2 separate regions of the Homo sapiens genome follow, and region 2 is linked to region 1. The links are contacts of gene promoters, found by promoter capture Hi-C in human tissues and cell types (Jung and others, 2019). All regions are on one chromosome and are shown on one strand. Each heading gives the region's core, a stretch centred on a gene start or on the middle of the fragment in contact. The rest is flanking DNA. Distances are from core to core; before and after follow the strand shown. Region 1 holds the start of LRRTM3 (leucine rich repeat transmembrane neuronal 3). Region 2 overlaps CTNNA3 (catenin alpha 3).

What was found. Contacts are between HindIII fragments. The study calls those that stand out against the background at their distance.
Region 2: a fragment that was not itself captured here is called in contact with the fragment with the promoter of LRRTM3 in region 1 in 3 of the 25 tissues and cell types used here (dorsolateral prefrontal cortex, hippocampus and mesenchymal stem cells).

Annotation. Positions count from the first base shown.
Region 1 is chr10:66,924,734-66,928,851 of GRCh38, reverse strand. LRRTM3 (leucine rich repeat transmembrane neuronal 3) reads right to left here and starts at 2,816. Exons shown (of 3, transcript NM_178011.5): 1 at 2,265-2,816; 2 at 400-1,931. The coding sequence starts at 2,268. The region is part of intron 7 of CTNNA3 (catenin alpha 3); the gene reads left to right. All of the region lies in intron 3 of LOC101928961 (a long non-coding RNA gene), which reads left to right. RefSeq lists a silencer at 2,844-2,953 and an enhancer at 2,573-3,429. The HindIII fragment of the contact is 13,899 bases long and covers 654-4,118 here.
Region 2 is chr10:66,830,543-66,834,626 of GRCh38, reverse strand. The region is part of intron 7 of CTNNA3 (catenin alpha 3); the gene reads left to right. Among named protein-coding and RNA genes, the nearest start is that of LRRTM3, 93 kb to the left of the region's middle. The HindIII fragment of the contact is 4,136 bases long and covers 1-3,969 here.

The DNA of each region.
Region 1 (4,118 bases), core at 1,567-4,066:
TGCCAGTGAGGTGCAAACCTTCTATAACTGTAGATTTGGTCCCACCAGGAGGCTAACAGCGAATGTGGGGGATTACTTATGAAAGAAGTTTTATCTTAAAACAAATGCGACATTAATGGAATCAGTAAAGGGTCTTATACAATAGGTATTATATTAAACCGGAGTTCAAGCTTCACATTGATTGTGGTATTTAAATTTCAATGGGTTGATTATGTATGAGAGGAAAATGACCAGTATTATGAATGCACTAAAACGGACAAGGAAGGATCTTGCCAGCAAAGTGAGAGGGAGAGGGAAGGGGAGGGGGGGCATCGCGTTCCCTTGATAGTCACCAGAGTTCAATAAAGCACCACTTATTTCCCAGCTTTTAAGAGCTCTTTTTATCACAATGGTTCATACCTCACACTCCCTGGAGCCCGATTTGTTATAGGTGCAGGGTCCCGTCCCATTCAGCAGCATCTCGCTGGTCTCCGTGTTGGTGGGTTTATAATCTACATAAAATTCCTGGGTGCTGGGAGTCATTTGCTTTAGGGACTGTCTTTTCTTTTTCCTGTGCCTTCGCATGAGGGAGCGCTGCTGCAGCTGCTTCATGCTCGCAGGGTACCGCTTCCATGACACGTAGATAACCAGCAGGATGACGAGCACGGACAGGAAAAGCGCCACGCTGCCCGCGATGATTTTATGGAAAGAGATGTGCTCGGCGTCAGCATCGGTCTCTGGGCCGGGCTCTGTGGCTCCCACCGTCGGGGGCAAAGGGGGTTTGCTCTCATGCTTCGGCCTGGGGAGCTTGGGCTTAAACGTCGGCTTTGGGAGAGCCCTGGCCAGATCAAACCTCTCTGTAGTACTTTTGCCACAGATGCTGTAGTTCTTCACTGCATCGATCACATTTACTCCTTGCAGCTCTTTGGGACTGGCACAGATAATTGTATTCTCCCTTAGACCTTTAAAACTTTTCAGCCAGTTTACAAGGGAGCAAATATTTCTGCTGCATTCCCATATATTCCCAGCAAGACTGATGTCATTGAGGGATATCCAAGAATCCAAAATCTCTTGACCAATAAATGTGAGCTTGTTGGAATCCAGGTTGAGGCGCTGCAGATTCGGGACACACTGGAAAACACTGGGTCCACTGAAAGCTTCGATCTCATTGCCTGATAAATCAAGCCTTTGTAAGGAGCTCCAGGTCCAGGACATGGTCTGTCCTATGACACTGATTTTATTCCACTGCAAGTAAAGGTTCTGAAGGCTGACCAACCTTGGAAAAAGGGCCAGGTTGAGCTTGGAAAATTGATTGTGCTCCAGGTGAAGTTCTTTGAGTCTGATCATGCCAGCAAAGACATTCCTGGCTAAACTTCGGATCCGGTTATATCCCAGGTCCAAAAGTTCCAGGTTGCGGCAGTCTTGGAATATTCGCACAGGGATGGTTCTCAGGGAGTTAGACCGTAAATGTAAACTCAGCAGCTTCCGCAAGCCCCGAAACTGTTCAGATCCCAGAGAATGCAGCTGATTATAGGACAGATCCAAGTTCCGTAAATTTGTCACAGGTCTGAAGGTATTGTTAAGAAAATAGGAGATTCTATTGGAACTAAGAATCAGCTCTTTGAGTCTGCGTATTCCATTAAAAGCATTTTCGTCAATATTGCTGATATGGTTATGGTCAAGGTATAGCCAGGTGAGCTGGTTGAGCCCTTTAAATTGATTATACTTAAGTTTTTGAAGGCTGTTATAGCGAAGGGACAAACCTAAGCAACCAGCAGATATACTTGAGGGTATCTCCTGTAATTTCTGAGATTCACAATATACCATTTTGCCTTCACACCTACAGCCCTTAGGGCATCCTCGTTCGGCAGAAGAAAGCATTGTCAGTAAGACAGTGGGGGCTATAACCAGTGCTACAGCTGATCCGCTCAGTAGCCTAATTACATTGAAACCTGGAAATAAAAACAACTTAGAAAAGTTATCCCCCCAAAAAAGAATTAATCCTTAATCAAGCAAAAATAGGCATATATTTTTCATTTTTAAAAATTTAAATCTAAATAACACTTAACATCACATATTATCTCTTTGTAATTAAAGAGAATTGTCTTTAGTGTTTTGTTTTTTTAAATAGTTAAACAAGGAAACATGCCACTAAGCAAATAAATTCATAGTCTTAGAGCAGAGCAAGGTAATCTCTAAAATAATTAAGGCAGAATTATTACACACACTAGAGGTTTTTTGTTTTTTGTTTTTAAGAAGGAAAGAAGAAAAATGACAAAACATACCCATCCTTTGTATTGTTCAAAGGTCGTCCTTAGGTCTTTTGCTTTGGCTTAGGGGCCAGTTGCATGACAGCCCCTGTCAGCTGCACTGTAGTGAGTCAGGGCTCGCTGACACCCAGGAAGAAAAATTGGACCCCTTGGGAGATGGACCGATTTTGGAACATTATTCTTTGCCAGCCACGCAGAACACTCCAAGAACAAATAAATCCCAACACCGCATTCGCAGCAAAACATCAAAATCTTCCTAGGTAATAGGATCTTCATGGATATTACGTTTTTGCATCTTTACAGTTTTTTGGGGGGTGGGGAGGGGGCGGTTAAAAAAAAAACTGGATCCTACAATTTCTTCTTATCGAAAAACATGATGTATTCTTCCAGGCAATTTGGGGCTACCTGAGCTGCCACATCTGTATTCCATACCCCAGCAGTTCCCGTGATGAGCACCCAGTTCAGCCACAGAGCTGCGTTGGAGCCCAGAAGGCAGGAGAGCCCCGTACCGCGCACACGCTCAGCTCACTTCTGCAGACTGTCATTCTGAAAGCTGCTCGGACTGTTGCTTTGGTTTCAGTGAATGCAGTCTTATGTAAAGCTGCCCCCAGTGGTGAAGAACATTATGGGCATGTGCAGAAATGTCTCTCTTTTATCTTGCAAATGAGCAGGCTCTCTGCTGGAAAATGAATGATTCTTTTGGGTGGCTCAGTAGGAACTGAATGGTCACCGTGATCAATAACTAGCAACATTTTCTGTGATTTCCAAGTCTTGTTTTACAATTTGGCAACGTCTTTATTGTCTGTGTCCACTTAATTGCTAAACATGTGCTGCCCAGAGTTTTTCTGGAGCTTGACATTAAGTTCACAGACCGAACGTCAATTTTTCTTAACCTCAACGCAGGCTTTAAACTGAAATTTATAAAATGAATTATTGAGCTTTTCACAGAGAAGCATTAACTGCCTGCCCATTTGACCTCTTGGAGTCACAGTGATTATATTATGCAAGGTGTCTCAGGATGTTAGAACACAAACATTTTGGAATAGAGGGGATGACTGATGACAAGTGAATTAATGTGTCCAATAGCCTTTCCGGTTTTCTCACAGACGATATAATTGATTTTATGGCTATAGTTTCGTTTGTTGTTTTGGTTGTTGTAATTCTCTTTTAATTAGAAGGGAAATAAACCATTTTTAGTGTTAGGATACGAATCAAGAGATCATTTGGTTCATACTTTATTGATGTTGCTGCTATTTATTACACTAATAATATTTATGGAGCACTTTCTAAGTGCTTTAAATGGGCTACGTTGTTTTCTCTTTAAACAATAGTATGATGTGGGTCCTATTATAACCTCTCTTTTAAAGATGAGGAAACAGACTTGGGGAGGTAACTTTCTCAAGGTCATACAGCAAGCGAGTGCTAGAGCTGAGCTTCAGAAGCGAGTCATTCTTATGCCGAACCACTAACCACTAGATGATCCTGTTCAACAACATTGTTATCTTCATTTAAAAAAGAAGTCAGTGAAAATGAAGCCGATTAAAGGATTGGGGCAAGGAAGCTGTGATTAGCAAATTCTTGCTTGTTCTATTAGAATTGCCTAAATTTCTTTTGGTCTGAGGTTCCTAAAGAAGTATAAAAACTAAGGCAGCGTAGTTTAGTGATTAACAGCATAGATTTTGGCACCTAGATTCCAACTCCTGGCTACAATTTACCAGCTATGTAACCTTAAGCGCGTTACTTACCTTCCCTATGCCTCAGTTTTCTCATCTGCAAAACGGGCATAAAAACAAAAACTCACTTCATGTTTTGAGAATTAAGTCATTTTAATATCTGTATGTTACTTAGAACAGTGTGTTGCATGCAATA
Region 2 (4,084 bases), core at 652-3,151, 93 kb after region 1:
CTTAAAGTCATATCTTCAAATAACTTGTGTTCTCCGCTAAATTGGATTGCAGAGATTTTAGATTAAGACCACTCAGTGACTCAATAGTTGTGTAACCTTGGGTAGGTCACTGAATTTGCTGTATCTCACTTTTCTCATCTATAAAATGGAAATGATGGCATCTGTACTGTTTATTTCATATAACTATTGTGAGGATCACAATGATATCTATGAAAGTATTTTGTCAATTCTAAAATCCTGTGTAACTGTGAAGTGTTATTGTTAATGCCCCTTGTAATACTCAGCACAGTCAGGATACACAGTGGACCCTTAGGACGTAATATCTTGCACATGTATGTGTGTAGCAGGGTGTCTTTTATAGATCTGTGAAAGCCAACACTCAAAACAGCATCTGATTATCTACTTAATAGCTAACCTGACAATTGTATGTGAGTACACATAATAGGTACAAAAGCTGGCTATTAGCTCAACTGTAGAAGGCAGGAAAAGTGGGGGATTGGCTGCAGCCCTTAAAACCTGTATTGGCATTCTCTATCTAGGAACCAGGGAGACATACCAAGGAGCTGAGTGTGTCATTGAAAGAACATGGGAACAATACACCCTATTGTTGGTCTTTGATAAGGTACCTTCCCAATAACATTTTGGCAAGACAACTAGGCTCTTTTTCTTGACAGTAAAGGCCTACTTACTGGGACAAAGGGCGGGATGGGTAAAAGCTTCTTAGGTATTCAAAATAGAAAAATAGCAAGCTGGTGTGTGTGTGTGTTTACAATACTTGAAACAGGATTCGTGAAATCCTATTAGTCCATCTTGAGAAAACACATGGAAGAGGAGCCTTTCTCTCCCTGTTGGGCTCTCTTGGTGTTCAGAAAATTGGATATGTAGTTCACTTGAGATTTTGTAGTACAGTACTGAAACTCATCTCAGTCATGTATTTGACAGCTACCTACACTATCCAGATGAAATAACATAAAAGTGTTGGAGCAAGTGTCTAGGAACACACTACTTCAATACGTATTAGCTTGTTGATGGTGAGTAAGTCAATGAACTTCTCTGAAACTTAGTTTCCTAATCTACAAAACAGAAATAATAAACCCTGACTTGTTTACTTTCTCTGAGTTTCAGATGAAATAATGTGCATAAAATACTTTGTCAACTAAAAAACCTCCTAGAAATGTAATATTTTGTTTTTAAATGCTTATTCTATAAGGATTTGCACGTAGTCAGTGCAATTATGCTTATTATAGAGATATAAACAAGATAGAAAAATGTGGATTGGATGAAAAAATCTTTAGGTGGATTCAATGCCTACTGAACAGTCAATGAAGTAGGTCTTGATTCATGCATTAAGCCTCCTGGCAGACTGGCTAGCAGCAGCTCTGCTCTCCCTATTCAGTGTCCTCACTGTGACCTGAATGAAGACACACAAGTCATGCTCTTTAGATTCTTCAATGATTCAGACCTCAGAGGACTACCTAGCAACATGAATGGCAGATCCAAAATTCAATTTGATCTTAAAAGGCAGAAACAATGATCTGAAAGCACCAAGATAAAATATAACATGGATATAAATAAAATTCTTCTTTTAGAGTAAAAATAATCTATCGCACAAATTCAGGAAGGGGGTGAACTGCCTTGGAGGAAGTTGATATGAGACCATCTGGGGTTTTTAGGTGTCTACAAGCTCAAATAGAATGTGATGCATTTGCTTTGAAGAAAAAAAATTTCTGAATAGAAAAATATGGCTGCTTCCTCCAGTGATCTAGTGCTCAGAAATCTAGCTACTGAGTTAGGGGATTAGAGCTCTGGTCCTCACTCTGCCAATGTCTCACGGTGTCACCTTGCTAGGGTCATTTAATGTCTCTTAGCTTCAGTTTTTCTGACCTTTAAAATGAGAAGTTTAGGCTGAGTTATTTCTGGATTGCTACTAGCTAGAAGAATCTGTGACTTTGAGTTGGGTCATAAAAAAACCTTTTCTTCTTCCTTTTTTTTTTTTGAAAATTGATATATCCACAACTAGTAGGAAGACAAACTGATTACAGGAGAATAATTGAGAACTAAAATTATAACGTGTATATCTTTTTATTTTCTCAGTGATTGTGGCATTAATTTAATTTTGTTGGCTTAGTAAATGGCCTCCTCAAAAACAATATATTTTTCAACTTATTTTTCTTAACTGGTGTGCCTTAAGAACTTTTTCCGGAACTTCAAATTTTCCCGTAACTTTCAGGTACAAATCCCAGCAGGGTCCATCTGGCTCACTTTCCTTCTAAGACAGATAAATTGAGCTGTGTGTGCTTTTACAGTGCGTGATCTTAGATATCTACATGAGACTTTCAAAAATTAAGGCCCTGTCTACTGCTTATAGATATATACAGGGTCTCAGACCTCTCTTTGTAAGAATAACAATTTATCATCAAAACTATAGAGTCATTTTTTCTGCCAAAATGAGTGTAGTTTCTTCCCAACTTATAGAAATATTATGTCTTTGATATGAACTTTAATTGAGCAGTGAATTACTTAGTGGTTTGCAGTGCTTCTGGGTGTTAGAATGTGCTGGGTTTTTCAGGATGAGTGGCTGTGTACGTAGGTATTTTGTTCAGTGTTTCAGAGCACCTGACCAAATTCATTCCTTTCCTTATGCTATTTGTTGATAAAGGATTTGCTCTATATTCCATACAATTGAATTCCTTGTCTTCTTTAATCTGCTTGCCTTATCCTCATTAGTTTTTGAAAGCTTGAACTATGTCTTAAATTGAATGAATTAATCAGAATATCTCATCCCTGAAGATATCAGATAAAAGAGAATTCATCATATTAAAGACATTGTGCTGGAAAAATAGTGGATTGTTTTCATGCTTCTCTCCCTTCTTCCCTCTTTCCCTTTCCTCTCTCCTCTGCTTTCCTGCATCTCATGCTCCTTCCCCTTTTTTTTGTTTCTTCTCTGCACAACTCTTTATTGAATTGCTACTGTGTGCTAGGTAGGCTGAGGATTTACTGTCTAGTAAAATATCCGCTGCTTTCATGGTGCTTATAGTCTAGGAGAGGAATCAAACCAGTAAACAATTGAAGTGCCAACTGGTAGAGAGACAGCTCAGTAATGAAAGCCAGAGAAAGCATCCCAGAAAAGATTTCAAACCTGAGAGGTAAGGGTGGATTAAAAGTTAGTGGAGTGAAAGCTTGGATTGGGCATAGGAAATGTTCTAGACAGAGAGCAAGCGTATGGTAAAGTCTTGAGATGGGAAAAAGCATAGCACAATTAAGAAATTTGAAAAGTCAGAACGAGTGAAGCCTGGCACACAAGGGAAGATGGGCCAGAAATGGGATTGAAGGATCACAAGCTTACAAAGGCCTTACTGCTTATGGATCCAAAGAGCATCAGAGAATCACTGGGGAGTTTAAAGAAATAAAATAACATGATCAGGTTTTCATTTTAAAAAGACCATTGTTTTTCCTGCAGATTAGAGACTTATTTGGAAGGACATAAGATTGATTATTGTAGTAGTCCAGGTGAAAGAGGATGATGGTGATGCATTGGATCAGGGGAGTATTGAAGAGGCTATTTCATGGGAGTAAAGCTTTGGAATCATTCTTTGTTTCATTTTCAGGTAACTGTCTTTAAAGCTGTCATTTAAAAACATATAAAACAAAAATTCTTTTTTTTCCCTTTTTTATGACTTTTTGAGGACATAAAGGTTGCTTAAAGAAGAAATTAGTAGGCCAGGCGCGGTGGCTCACGCCTGTAATCCCAGCACTTTGGGAGGCCGAGGCAGGCGGATCACGAGGTCAGGAGATAGAGACCATCCTGGCTAACACGGTGAAACCCTGTCTCTACTAAAAATACAAAAAATTAGCCGGGCGTGATGGCGGGCGCCTGTAGTCCCAGCTACTCGGGAGGCTGAGGCAGGAGAATGGCGGGAACCCAGGAGGCGGAGCTTGCGGTGAGCCGAGATCGCACCACTGCACTCCAGCCTGGGCAACAGAGCTAGACTCCGTCTCAAAAAGGAAAAACAAAAAAAAAAAGAGAAATTAGTAGTTGTGAGGGGTTGAGGTGTTTAGAATAGAATTCTCCATGCTGCATTGG